3 separate regions of the Homo sapiens genome follow, and all the other regions are linked to region 3. Evidence: promoter capture Hi-C in human tissues and cell types (Jung and others, 2019). All regions are on one chromosome and are shown on one strand. Each heading gives the region's core, a stretch centred on a gene start or on the middle of the fragment in contact. The rest is flanking DNA. Distances are from core to core; before and after follow the strand shown. Region 1 overlaps HSF2BP (heat shock transcription factor 2 binding protein). Region 2 overlaps HSF2BP (heat shock transcription factor 2 binding protein). Region 3 holds the start of PDXK (pyridoxal kinase).

Evidence for each region. The method cuts DNA at HindIII sites, captures the fragments that hold promoters and counts their contacts. A contact is called where the count stands out against the background at its distance.
Region 1: a fragment that was not itself captured here is called in contact with the fragment with the promoter of PDXK in region 3 in 4 of the 25 tissues and cell types used here (H1 embryonic stem cells, dorsolateral prefrontal cortex, lymphoblastoid cells and 1 more).
Region 2: a contact is called between a fragment that was not itself captured here and the fragment with the promoter of PDXK in region 3, in 4 of the 25 tissues and cell types used here (dorsolateral prefrontal cortex, lymphoblastoid cells, small bowel and 1 more).

What each region holds. Positions count from the first base shown.
Region 1 is chr21:43,648,767-43,653,237 of GRCh38, reverse strand. All of the region lies in intron 3 of HSF2BP (heat shock transcription factor 2 binding protein), which reads left to right. Among named protein-coding and RNA genes, the nearest start is that of HSF2BP, 8.5 kb to the left of the region's middle. The HindIII fragment of the contact is 6,133 bases long and covers 1-4,471 here.
Region 2 is chr21:43,603,630-43,608,118 of GRCh38, reverse strand. All of the region lies in intron 7 of HSF2BP (heat shock transcription factor 2 binding protein), which reads left to right. Among named protein-coding and RNA genes, the nearest start is that of MIR6070, 4.1 kb to the left of the region's middle. The HindIII fragment of the contact is 7,535 bases long and covers 1-4,489 here.
Region 3 is chr21:43,716,292-43,720,973 of GRCh38, reverse strand. PDXK (pyridoxal kinase) reads right to left here and starts at 1,845. Exons shown (of 11, transcript NM_003681.5): 1 at 1,593-1,845. The coding sequence starts at 1,679. It overlaps LOC124905032 (a long non-coding RNA gene), which reads left to right and starts at 2,426. Exons shown (of 2, transcript XR_007067896.1): 1 at 2,426-2,759; 2 at 3,282-3,499. RefSeq lists silencers at 857-1,046, 1,204-1,513, 1,554-2,343 and enhancers at 243-1,152, 2,494-2,543. The HindIII fragment of the contact is 22,908 bases long and covers 1-4,682 here.

The sequences.
Region 1 (4,471 bases), core at 971-3,470, 68 kb after region 3:
CTTCCCCTTCCCTTCCCTTCCCCTTCCCTTCCCTTCCCCTTCCCTTCCTTTCCCTTTTCTCTCTCTCTCTCTCTCTGTGTCTCTCTTTCTCTCTTTCTTCCGAGTCTCACTCTGTTGCCCAGGCTTGAGTGCAGTGGCATGATCTCAGCTCACTGCAACCCTGCAACCTCTGCCCCCTGGGTTCAAGCGATTCTCTTGCCTCAGTCTCCCGAGTAGCTGGGATTACAGGTGTGTGCCACCACGCCAGCTAATTTTTGTATTTTTAGTTAGAGACCAGGTTTCACCACGTTGGCCAGACTAGTCTTGAACTCCTGACCTCAGGTGATCTGCCCGCCTCGGCCTCCCAAAGCACTGGATTACAGTTATGAGCCACTGCGCCTGGCCTGATGCCCTTCTTTCTAGTTTGCAGTCCTATCTCATGAAACTCACATGTGCTCCAGGAAACGTGGTGTTAACAGAAAGGAAGGATCAGATTGGGCTGGGCTGGTTCCAGGAGGTTTACTGTGGCCTCCTAAGGCATCTTTTATCTAATTTTGGCTTTTGAGTTTTTACCATTTAGCCAACATCAAGAAAAATAAAAATTCTTCTTTTTATAAGGCCTAGATCTGATGGCCCTCCCCAAGCCTTCCCACGAGCCTGTCTTCCTAGACTAATCATGCTAGACATGACTCTAAGAATAGAGCTCTACAGAGGAAATTCACGATTGTACTGTGGCAGCAAGAGCCGTTTGACATACTGATTCTTCTACTCTCCCACTAGCCCTATTGTCCAGTATCCACTCCTTTTGCTTCTAGAGGTTAATGTGCACTTCCAGTTGTTTTTTTTTTTTTTTTTTTTGATGGTGTCTGGCTCTGTCTCCCAGGCTGGAGTGCAGTGGTGTGATCTCAGCTCACTGCAACCTCTGCCTCCCGGGTTCAAGCTATTCTCCTGCCTCAGCCTCCAGAGTAGCTGGGAATACAGGCGCCTGCCATCACGCCTGGCTAATTTTTGTATTTTTAGTAGAGGCAGGATTTCACCATATTGGCCACGCTGGTCTCGATCTCCTGACCTCAAGTGATCTGCCCGCCTTGGCCTCCCAAAGTGCTGGAATTACAGGCATGAGTCACCATGTGCTTCCAATCTTAAGCAGTGACTAAAGGCAACCTGAAGGTAGGAATGAATACAGGCAGGGAAGGAGTAGACCTGATTTGAGAAGTTTCTTTTAGAGTGTGGATATAGTTTTGTTTGGATGGGCTTGGGCTATACAGTAACTTGTAAGCCAGCTAGAGGATTGAGGTGACACATCAAGTAGCGAATGGGGCTTGATTTTGACTCTAGCCCAGCATCTCCCTTTGGGAGGACTGGGCAAGGTAAATGGCAGTTTGCAATAATACTGACGAAGGTGTTGCCTGAGAGTCTTAGGGAGTTGATGGGTACTGGGGAGAGGCATGATTTGTTAGGAGGAGAAGGGGAGATATTCTAGGCCAGGGCGGTGGCATGTGAAAGTCACACATGGGATTGAGCAGGACCGATTGCAGGTTCATCAGCTAGTGTTTGATTGCTGTATGGAATAAGGATTGGGGGTATAGCAGAATTAGGGATGGAAAATGAACAGTTTATGGAAGACAATCATAGATTGTTTTTAATTTGAGATGAGAGTCAACTGGAAATTACCACATGGAAATAACCATCAAAATAGTGATCAAAATGACGTTTTTTAGGAGAATGGTTTTTATAGGTGAGTGTAGGATAGGTTTGAAGAATTGGGTGGAAGATGAATTAGAGCATTCATCAAGGAAGGTCGTGAGTTCCATTAGTGTGTGGGACTGTGGCTGTATGGATGGAATGGAAGGGACGTTTGATTAGTCTTGGTGGTTAAGTCAGGACAAAGTGTCATGATTTATGATCGGCAGTGAGAGTATGGAGATACAGGATCATCTATATACTGCCTGCTGATTAGTGTCTACAAAATGTGGACAGTAATGCTTACCTCATAGGCTATGGCAAAGCTTAAAATGAGATAAGCTCTGTAAGGTGTGTGCCACTGTGACTGGCTCATAGGAGTCCCTGGTAAATAACACCTCCTCAGATGGTGTGGGAAACTATGTGAACCCTTGGGGAAATGAAGAGAGACTCCAATTCACAGCCCAGCAGCTTAGCTTCTGGCTCGGCCATTGTCACTTCATGAGTTTGGGAAAAGTTTAGGGAGGTTCGAGTAAGACTCAGCTATGTTTGCAAGAGATGTAAACCGGGCCGGGTGCGGTGGCTCACGCCTGTAATCCCAACACTTTGGGAAGCCAAGGCTGGCAGATCACTTGAGGTCAGGAGTTCGAGACCAGACTGGCCGACAAGGTGAAACCCCATCTCTACTAAAAATACAAAAATTAGCCGGGTGTGATGGCATGTACCTGTAATCCTGGCTACTCAGGAGGCTGAGACAGGAGAATCGCTTGAACCCAGGAAGCAGAGGTTGCAGTGAGCTCAGATCATGCCACTGCACTCCAAACTGGGTGACAAAGTGAGACTCCATCTCAAAAAAAAAAAAAAAAAAAAAAAGCAAGCCTGAAAACACTATAGGAACCTCCATTTGACTTGTTAAGGTAGTGGCACTTAAGTACTTAGTAAGATATCACCCTCTGTTTTCTTTCATCCCTTCTTGTGCTTTATTCATCCAACAGTGGTGAATAAATCAGTGGGTATCAAAAATTTGTTTAAAACTAGGAAAATCCTATTTTTTATAAATAAAATTTTATGGGCCGGGCACGGTGGCTCATGCCTGTAATCCCAGCACTTTGGGAGGCCGAAGTGGGCGGATCACGAGGTCAGGAGATCGAGACCATCCTGGCTAACATGGCGAAACCCTGTATCTACTAAAAATACAAAAATTAGCCGGGCATGGTGGCGGGCGCCTGTAGTCCCAGCTACTCGGGAGGCTGAGGCAGGAGAATGGTGTGAACCCCAGAGGCGGAGCTTGCAGTGAGCCGAGATCGCACCACTGCACTCCAGCCCGGGCGACAGAGCGAGACTCTGTCTCAAAAAAAAAATTATATAATAGTATATGATGGTTCTAGATGTAAAATAGATGAAAACTGTATCTTCTGGGTATTTGTTTTTAAAATTAAGTTTTAGAACATTGACTTATAAAATCAGTAAGTACAATGAAGGTGGTGCGATGAAAACACAAATTTAGTATCAGGGATTTTGGAAGGTACTTGGATGATCACTTTCAGCATCCAGTTTGTTTTTAGTTTTGCTTGTGAAGTCGCAAGAAGACACAATCCCACAGATAAGGAGTTGCAGATGGTGGTTTTGAAGTAGTTCACCTAGCAACATGAAGACACTTTCTAATTAAACTGATATGAAGCTTGAAATAAGAGGAGTCAGATATTTTTGTTTTACAATTAAATCGCTAAGATCGAGCAATTCTTTGCTTTCCTTGATTGGCAATTGTTCATTTTGGAGAGAAATAATAAAAAAGCCATTCAGTCTGTTTAAATCTTCATTGTCTTACAGAAAACACTTTTCATGCATTATGCTGCATTTGACAATTTGGCACCTTAGTGGCAGTCAGATATTCACTGACAGTCTCAGAGGAGCTGGAATTATTTTTGTATGTTGACAGCACACCTAAAATGTTGGCCTCATTTCTGAAATAATTAAAATGTTAAATAATTTTAACCTTTTAAAATTTGTTTATATGTTTTTTGATGTTAATGTGAACCAGCCTTGTTTTGGTCATTGAAAATATCAGCAGTGAATGCGAACTAGTGTAGCCATGATACGCTGGTGAGATATTTGACCAACAGATTTTTCTTTCTTTTTTTTTGAGATGGAGTCTCCCTCTGTCACCCAGGCTGGAGTACAGTGGCATCATCTTGACTCACTGCAACCCCAGCCTTCCTGGTTCATGCCATTCTCCTGCCTCAGTCTCCCGAATAGCTGGGACTACAGGTGCGCGCCATCATGCCCGGCTCATTTTTGTATTTAAAAATTTTTTTTCAAAAAAATAAAAAAAACCCCAAACTGAAAAACAAACAAAAGGCCAGGCGCGGTCAGCACACCTGTAATCCCAACTACTTGGGAGGCTGAGGCAGGAGAGTCGCTTGAGCCCAGGAGGCAGAAGTGACAATGAGTTGAGATCATGCCACTGCACTCCAGCCTGGGCAACAGAGGGAAACTCCATCTCAAAAAAATTTTTTTAATTAAATAAATGAATGATGAGCAAATGAGGCAAACAAAATGTTAATAGTAGGTAAGTCTGGGTAAAGAGAGATAACAGGAATTTTTTTTGGCATTAGTTTTTGTGAATTTGAAATTACTTCCAAATAAAAATTGTAAATAACATTGTAAAATGGAGATATTAATTGAATGTTTATGGGACTGTAGTTGTTCCCCAGGTACTCTTAGATTCTTAGCAGTAGGATTTGAAAACCACTGCGCTATGTGATTTCTAAAGTGTAGGATATTTTGAGATTAATTTCCTGAGAGTTTG
Region 2 (4,489 bases), core at 1,828-4,327, 110 kb after region 3:
AGCTCTTTATTTTAATTATGTCCCAATTGTCAATTTTCGGTTTTGTTGCAATTGCTTTTGAGGACTCAGTCAAATTCTTTGCCTAGGCCGATATCCAGAAGACTATTTCCTAGATTTTGTTCTAGGACTTTTATAGTTTGAGGTCTTACATTTAAGTCCTTAATCCATCTTGAGTTAATTTTTATCTGTGGTTAGAGGTAGTGGTCCAGTTTCATTCGTTTACATATGGTTAGCTATTTTTCCCAGCACCATTTATTGAACAGGGAGTCCTTTCCTCATTGCTTATTTTTGTCAATGTTGTCAAAGGTCAATTGGCTGTATGTGTGCAGCTTTAATTTCTGGGTTCTGTATTCTGTTCCATTGGTCTATGTGTTTATTTTTGTACCAGTGTTATGCTGTTTTAGTTAGTGTAGCCTGGTAGTATAGTTTGAAGGTGGGCAGTGTGATGGCTCTAGCTTTGTTCTTTTTTCTTAGCGTTGCTTTGGCTATTTGGGCTCTTTTTTGGTTCTATAAGAATTTTAGAAGAGTTTGTTCTAATTCTATGAAAAATGATGTTGGTAATTTAATAGCAATAGCATTGAATCTGTAGATTGCTTTGGGCAGTTTGGACATTTTCATGATATTGATTCTTCCAGTCCATGAACATGAATGTTTTTCCAGTTGTGTCATCTATGATACTTCTTTCAGCAGTGTTCTGTAGTTCTTCTTGAAGAGATCTTTCACTCCCTTGGTTAGATGTATTCCTAGGTTTTTGTGTGTGTGTGTGGCTGTTGTAAATAGGATTGTGTTGTTGATTTGGCTCTCAGCTTGAACCTTTTTTTTTTTTTTTGAGACAGGGTCTCACCCTTTTACCCAGGCTGGAGTGCAGTGGCATAATCACGGCTCACTGCAGCCTCGACCTGCTGATCTCAAGCGATTCTCCTGCCTGAGCATCCTGAGTAGCTGGGACTACAGGTGTGTGCCACCACACCTGACTAATTTCTGTAGTTTTTTGTAGAGACAGGGTTTCGCCATGTTGCACAAGCTGGTCTTGAACTCCTGAGCTCAAGTGATCCGCCTTCCTTGGCTCTTCCCAAAGTGCTGGGACTACAGGCTTGAGCCACCACACCTGGCCTCCAGTTCTGTGTTGAATAGGTGCGGTAAGAGTGGATATCTCTATGTCTTATTCCAGTTCTTAGGGGAAGTGTTTCTTCTAGCTGCCCATTTTTATTTTTAATGAAATGTCCCAGAATGCTCATTTTTAAAAGGCTGTTTCTCTTCCAATCTCATGCGAATTTTTTTCCTCCTTGAAAATTCAAGCAACCAGTTGCTCTCTTCACATCCAGCCTTTCTCATCACTGTACTTTTCTGACCATCCAGGCATTTCCCTTGTTCACTGAGTACTGGCTTGTTGGTGTCCCCCTCCCCATTTCCTGCTATCTTGAATGACTTGAACATGTTTAGGGGTGATTCATTCAACAATCTAATTTCAAGGCCACCTGCCTTTCTCAGCTCCCAAGATTTGCTGTGCCCTTCACTGTGGCAGTAGTCTGCCTTGGGCCAGACCCTGCACATTGTCATCAGGTGGACTGTCTGGTAAACATTGCTGTAGCACTCAGGCCATACCTCCTCTCCTCCCTGCCTCCTTTTCCTACCATTGTTCCCTCTAAACTGCAAGACCTCCTGCTCCTCCTCCCTCCTCTTTCCTCCTGCTCACACCATTGCCTCCATGGCCTCCCCTCCCTCCAGCTCACCCAGCCCCAGTGTGCATCACATTTCCTGATGCTTTCAACCTTGGATCAGCCCAGCCATCCTTCTTCTCTGTTCCTACAGCTGGGGCTGTTGAGTGAGGTTTGGGAAGAAGCTTTCTTGTGTGCACGGACTCTCGTCATTTCTCCCGGTTTCCAGCACCCTGGAATCCTCTTCTATGTCCTTTCTCAGCTCCCACTCATTTCCACACTGGTGGAGGCAGACCTCGGGTGTGATCCTCACGGCCTCCCTGCTCTGCTCTTCCTTGGTAGGTGGGTGTCCCGGCAGGCGGCTTTACTTCCTGCTCTGCTCTTCCTTGGTAGGTGGGTGTCCCGGCAGGCGGCTTTACTTCCTGCTGCACAGAGTCAAGGGTGTGAGTGTGGCCGCCTCAGCTTGGCCCTCCCTTGTTTATTCCACTCCCCTTTGCTTTTTCTTCTCACGTGTCAGAGGCACGTATGGCCTGGATGTGTGTGTGTGGTGTGGGTGTGTATATGTGGCGGGGCGTGGGGAAATGAGGATGTATTTGGGTGTGGTGTATGTGTATGTGGGTATTTTTTGGGGTGTATGGTGTGTATGCGTTTGTGTGGGGCATGTTTATGGTGTGAGTGTGAGGGAATGTGTGTGGTGTGTGTGTATATATGTTGGGGGGAGGTGGGTGTCATGTGATGTGTGTGACTGTGGTGTGTTTGTATATGTGGGACTATGAGGGATTGGGATGTGTGTATTTTGTGTGTGGGTGGAGATGTGGGTGTGGTATGCATGGTGTGTGTGGCTATGTGAGGGGGATGTGTGTGTGTGGTATGTGTATGTTGGGGGATGTTTGTGGTGTGTATGTACATGTGGAGGGTATGGGGTATGTGTGTTTGTGGGAGGTGCGTGGGGGGATATGTGTGGGTGTGTGTGTGGGTGTGGCGTGTGGGGGTGTGTGGGCTGCATATGTGGGGGTGTGTGTATGTGTGTGTGTTGGAGTGTGTGTGTGGTGTGGGGAATGTGTGGTGTGTGTGTGGTGTGTGTGTCGGGGGGTGGGTGATGTGTGTTTGTGGGCTCTTTCAGCCAAGGCTGGGGCAGTTAGTGCAGTCAGCTGGTGTGTTGTGTGTGGGGTGTGATGTGTGTGTGATCTGTGGTGTGTGATGTGGGTGCGTGGTGTGTGGTGTGTGTCTGGTATGTGTGTGGTGTGGGTGTGTGGGCTCTGTCAGCCAAGGCTGGGGCAATTAGTGCAGTCAGCTGGTGTGTGTGTGGTGTGTCTGATGTGTGTGTGGTATCTGTGTGGTGTGTGTGTGATGTGTGTGATGTATGTGTGTTGTGTTATGTGGTACGTGTGATGTGTGTGGTGTCTGGTGTGTGTGTGGTGGGTATGTGGTGTGTGTGATGTGTGTGTGGTGTCTGATGTGTGTGGTGTGATGTGTGATGTGTGTGTGGTGTGTAGTGTGTGTGTGGTGTATGGTGTGTGATGTCTGTGGTATGTGATGTGTCTTTGTGGTGTGTGTGTGATGTGTGTGGTGTGTAGTGTATGGTGTGTATGTGGTGTGTGGGTGTGGTGTGTGTGATGTGTGGTGTGTGTGGTGTGCGATGTGGGTGGTGTGTGTGGCGTGTAGTGTGGCATGTGTGTGGTGTGGCATGCGAGTGGTGTGCGTATGGTGTGTGAGTGGTGTGTGTGTGGTGTATGTGGTGTCTGAGATGCGTGTGAGTGCAGTGTGTAGTGTGTGTGTGGTGTGTGGTGGTGTGTGTGTGTGGTGTGTGTGTGGTGTGTGTGCTGTATGATTGTGTGGTGTATGATGTGGTATGTGTGATGTGTGTATGGTGGTGTGTGTATATTGGTGTGTGTGCAATGTGTGTGGGGTGTGTATGGTGTGTGTGGTGTGTGTGTGGGGTGTGTATAGTGTGTGTAGTGTGTGGTGTGTGTGTGTATGGTGTGCGTGCTGTGTGTTGTGTGTGTGGTGTGTGCGTGGTGTGTGTGTGGTGTGGTGTGTGGGGTGTGTATGGTGTGTGTGTAGTGTGTGTGGTGTGTGTGTGGTGTGCGTGCTGTGTGGTGTGTGTGTGGTGTGTGCGTGATGTGTGTGTGTGTGGTGTGTTTGTGGTTTGTGCATGGTGTGTGTGGTGTGTGTGATGTGTGTGAGTGGTGTGTGGTATGTGTGATGTGTGTGAGTGGTGAGTGGTGTGTGGTGTGTGCTGTGTGCTGTGGTGTGTGTGTGTAATCCTCCTGCCTCTGTGTTGAGCCTTCCTCTGGGATGTGCCCTGTTGCCTGTCATTTCTTGCTCCAGTATTTCCAGCGCTCCTGCTCCACTGGCTCCTGTTTAGCCTTTTGTCTTCCCAGGCCACGGCTGCCCTTTCAAACCACTAGCCAGCCTGCGTTTACCATGACATGTTGCATTTTCCCAGAATGCAGAGCTGGCTCATGGTGTGTTCTTTTTGCCTCCCCCAGAAATCCCTGTGGGCCCTGCAGGTCAGTGGTGGATCAGACTGGATTCTGCTATTGGGCCACATGTCCATGTCTTTTGTGGCAAACATTCATAGGGTTGTACATGGGACATTGTTGTGACTCAGCCTCTGTGAGTTTTTTCAGTGGCATAGCCTCCCCAGCCATATGGTTTCGGGCTGTTCCTAGTTTATCTGCCTTTTTTTGTGAAGACCCTGTTTTTAACTCTCCAAATCTAGGAACTTCCAGCATATGGTGGCCAGACACACCAGCTGACCTTGGAGGCCCCTCAAGGTGGTTGGTGCTGCCAGCAGGATGACTGGATTCTGTTTACTGTAGTGGTCA
Region 3 (4,682 bases), core at 596-3,095:
ACCCCTCGAGTCACTGGGAGTTCGAGAACAAAGGACATTGCTGGGGGATCCCGAGTGAGCCAAAGAAGGAAACAGTTTGCCCAATGAAGTAGGAGGTGGATGGGAGGAGGGACGGGACAGACACAGCAGGACCTGCACACTTCTGCCAAGAGAGTGGACGCTGTCCTCAGAGCCCCCTGGTTCCACACTGCCTGGCTGCCCCTGCTTCAGGCACCCTGCACCTTTCTTCCCAAGCCCAATCCTACCTCTGACTCTGCCCAAGCAATCCGCCAGCCTGTGGTGACCTCCCCCAACCCCCTCAAGCTAGGAGTGGTCCAGAGCAGTGCTTAAGAGCCGGAGCCACAGAACCGGTGCACCCTGACTGTCCCAGGCAGGGTCTGCCTGCAGCTGGATGGAACAGGGTCTCAAGTAAGACCACCTGTGAAGCACCGCATCCTTCCCAACAGGACCTCCACTTACTTCGGACTCGAACCCCCTGCCTTTCCACGCTCAACTCTGCTCAGCTTGGTCCTCCTGGGGGCACGCCTAGGTCAGCCCTCAAATTCCACTGAAGCTCTGCTCCCCTCTTCCTGTCCTCCTCCCAGGCCAGCCCGCACCGCAGGCCCCGCCGTGCCCAGGTGGCCCTTCTTTACATCCCGTGGGGCCCAGCACAGGGACCAGGCATACCTGCTCCCGTCCCCAGTGACCAGGCCGCAGGTGGGCAGCACAGGAGAGCACGACCCGGCAGGGCACCCCCAGCCCTCCTGCTGACTCGACAAGGCCAGGAAGTGCCCGTCGTCCTGGTTCTGCCTCGGCCCTGCGTGACACCCACGCCACTGCACCCAGGCCTCTCCTACCCCTCCACGGGCCACTTAGCTGCAACCAGGAGGCCGTGGGCCAACGCGTTTTAAAAGCTGGCTCCCTAAAGCCAATCCGCACAGTCCCGAACTGCTCTCTGGGGCTTCTCCTCGTCAGAGCAAACACCTGCAGGGATGCCGCTCTGCTAGAGGGTGCAGAGCAGCCCCTGCCCCACCCTCTTCCCTTCGGCCACCTCCTGGCGTGGTCAGGCCGAGGGGAATCCACCCTCGTGGGCACCGTGACCTCACTCGGCGTCTTCTTCCTGACTTCCCCACGCACAGGGGCCCAGGAGGTGAGCGCGCGAGCGTCTCGAGCTCCACGGCCGCTTCTGCGTTCCAGCGGGGCAAGGTCCCGGCTCGCGTGACTGCTCCGGGACTCCTCGGGGCTCTGCGACATTTCCTCGCCTCCGGGAGCCGCACCGCCCGCCCGCCCCCGCGGCAGTTGGCCCGGTCGGCGGGAAGGGGCGAGGACGAGCGGCTGCGCCATAGCTGGTGCACAGGGCTCCCTCCTACCCGCGTACCCCGACGCCGGACCCGTCCCACCCGCAGGGGCCCGCAGAGCGCTCAGCCCTCCGCTTCCGCCCCCGCAAGCCAAGCAGAGCGGGAGGCTCATCCCGCGCCTGCCTCCAGGGCGCCCGCGCCAGGCTCTGCCCGCAGCTCCCGAGCCTCCCTCGGGGAACTGAGGCTCGTCTCGGGCAGCCCCGCCAAGGTCACGGGCTCGGGTTACGTAAGCCCGGGCTGCGGGCGGATGCGTACCTGCAGCGGGAACGTGGCCGCCCGGTTGCCCACGTAGCCGCGGATGACGTGGCTCTGTATGGAGAGCACCCGGCACTCCTCCTCCATGCCGGGCCTGGCCGCGGCGGCGCGGGGCCGAGGCGGGGGCACGGTCTCCGCCGCTCGCTCGGGCTCCGGCTCGGCTCGGGCTCGGGCTCCGGCCCCGGCTCCCCTCGGCTGCGACTCTGGCTCTGGCGCGCGGCGGACCCGATCAGCGCAGACGCCTCCTTCTGACCTCAGCGGGCGGCTCCGAACCCGCGAGTTCCGCGCGGCGCCGGGGGCTGGCCGGGGGCGGACCGGGGCGGGGACAGCCACGCAGGCCCCGCCCCCGGGCTGGGAGGAAGCGAAACCGGACCCTGGCCGCGCGGCCGCGCCAGGTGGCCCCCGCCACTCTGCCGCCCGAAACGCTGGGTTTGCACTTTCATTCCGCCTGGAGAGGGCTCTGCAGCGCCGTTCATTCGTTCGTTCATTCATTCATTCAACCATTGTGCTCCGCCTCAGCCCTGCGCCCCGCGCCCCGCGCCCCGCGCCCCGCCGCACGCAGGGGAGACTCGGGGGCCCGGGCTCCACGCCCCTGACCTCCGGGCGCGACACTCTCGCAACGCGGATGGCCACGAGAGTGCGCGCGGGCGTGGGAATAGTGCGGAGGCGCGAAAGTGACCCCGGACCCCGGATACCCAAGGGAACCGCGCTCTCAACTGCCTGCAGGGCCCGGAGCCCGCATCCGATCCGCGTCCCTTCCCAGGGGCCGCGCGGGAGCTGACAGACACGGGGCCGGGGGGACCCAGTCAACTCCGCACCGGCCTGGGGCGGCGGGCTTCTCTGGGGGCGCCCCAGACCCTTGCGGACCCTGAGTGCCCACTCTGGTGGCGCGGCCTGCAGAGGCCCCCAGCCGATGGCCACATGCCCGGCCGTCCATCCACAGGTGCCTGGGTCTGGGCCGCGTGTCCGATCCCACCCCAACCAGGTCTTCCTGTGGAGGGCCTGCCTTCGAGGACGAACCTGACCCCCTGGGGGACCCCACAGCCTTCACTTCCCACCCCTACGCTCTCCACAGCTGACGCACTCCCTGCGGCTTCCCTGCACCACCCCGGGGAACGGAGGCCTTTGGGTTCCAGACTTGCAGACATGGTGATTTGGGGCCCTGGGGTCAGTATCACCAGACTAAAGTCTTGGTGACCTAACACAGCGCACCTAGGGCTCTGTAGCTTGGTGAGACCCAATGCCCGACCAGGCGGGTGCTGAGGACTGAGGGAGGAAGACATTACTTAGAGATCTAGGCTTTTAAAAGAAAGTACTTCATAATTAGTCATAATTGTCCATTAATAATAGCTAACATTGGCCGGGCGCGGTGGCTCACGCCTATAATCCCAGCACTTTGGGAGGCTGAGTTGAGCGGATCAAGAGGTCAGGAGTTCAAGACCAGTCTGGCCAACATAATGAAACCCCATCTCTACTAAAAATACAAAAATTTAGCTGGGTGTGGTGGTGTGCACCTGTAATCCCAGCTACTTGGGAGGCTGAGGCAGGAGAATTGCATGAACCCAGGAGGTGGAGGTTGCAGTGAGCCAAGATCGCGCCATTGCCCTCCAGCCCGGGTGACAGTGAGAGACTCTGTCTCAAAAAAATAATAAAATAAAATAAAGAGAATTAATTGTAACACACCCCTAGATGGTACCACGAGGCTGGAGTCCAAAAGCGCTTGTCCTGGCCCTCGCACCCACTCGCCTGCGTGCTTCCCCTCCCACAAGGAGTTAGAGCGTGGTGCCAGGTAAGCAAGCCACACCCCTATCACAAGTCCAGCAAAAGGCTCCAGGGAACTCTCCCGTCTCATCACCTTAAAGGCTGTAACCCTTTGTAAGAAATAAATTCTCCTGTCCTTTCCCAAACTTATAGATTGTGAAGTTAACAAACTAAGGAGAAGTCAGAGGTTACAGAGTTGGTGACAAGCAGTGCTGGGTGAGAGCCCCAGGAACCTACAAAGGCAGCACCAACAACTGCCCTTACTACCCTTTGCTCATCCTACTCTGTGAGTCTCTCGCCCTTGGCTCTTAGGAGCGCCTGATGAATCTCTCTCTCTGCAGTGGATTTCGTCCTTCCACACTTTGATCCATCATCCATGGTCCCTTCCCCATCCCCAGCCCCCACCCCCCCCATCCTATCACACCTTTGGTCCCAAGCACTAAGAGGAAAGAGCAGGGGAGGCATGGAAGAGAGCTGACCAGCCTCCAGGCCCGTGGGCTCCAGGACCCTCCTTCTCGACAGAGGGCTCTGATCGAAACTCTGAAAATGTCATTGTGGTGAGTACATTTTTGCCTGTGGTTTCTTGGGCTTTTCAAAGATCTGGTTGCCCGTTCCCAGCTGTTGTGCAGATGGCCAGTGCCTGTGGTTCTCACACTGGTCATTTTAGAGTCACCCAGGGAACTGGATACACACACCTAGGCCCAGCCCTGTCCTACCTCACTGAGCCTGGCGCTGAGCTCCTTTTTAGCTCTGCAGGTGCTTCTGAGACCACCCAAGGGTGAAAGGCACTGTGTGGGCAGATGAGCTAATTTGGTGTTTTTATGAGCACATGTCACTTGCCACTAATTATCAGTCCAAGAGCAAAGCTTTTTCCTTGATGACTCAGATAGTAAAGACCTTCTAGACACTACGAGTCTACTGAAAAGATGCCCAGTCCAGGAGACGAATGGGATGCCTCGCTTCGATTGGGTGGGCTGCCACCCCAGCCTGTACCCCTAGGTCAGCCTTTCCAGGGAGAGAGCCCTGGAGGGGTGGCCCCCAGCTGGGTGGTGGCCAGGGAGGCTCCCCTAGGGAACAAGTGGTTGGAGAGACCCAGAGCTGGGTTCCACCTGGGGAGGCAAGTGGACGGGGTCCTGGAGATGGTGTCCAGAAAGTCATTCACTGAGAAAGAAAAGAGAGGACCTGAGAGAACTGACACCAAGCGGGTCTTCCACCAGAGCATTCGAGGCATGACCAGCTGAGTTATGGTGGCAACACAGTGTGCCCTCAAAGGACGGTGAACCTTGGAAAATGTCAACAAAAAGAGTCAAAATCTGTAAAATATTGAAA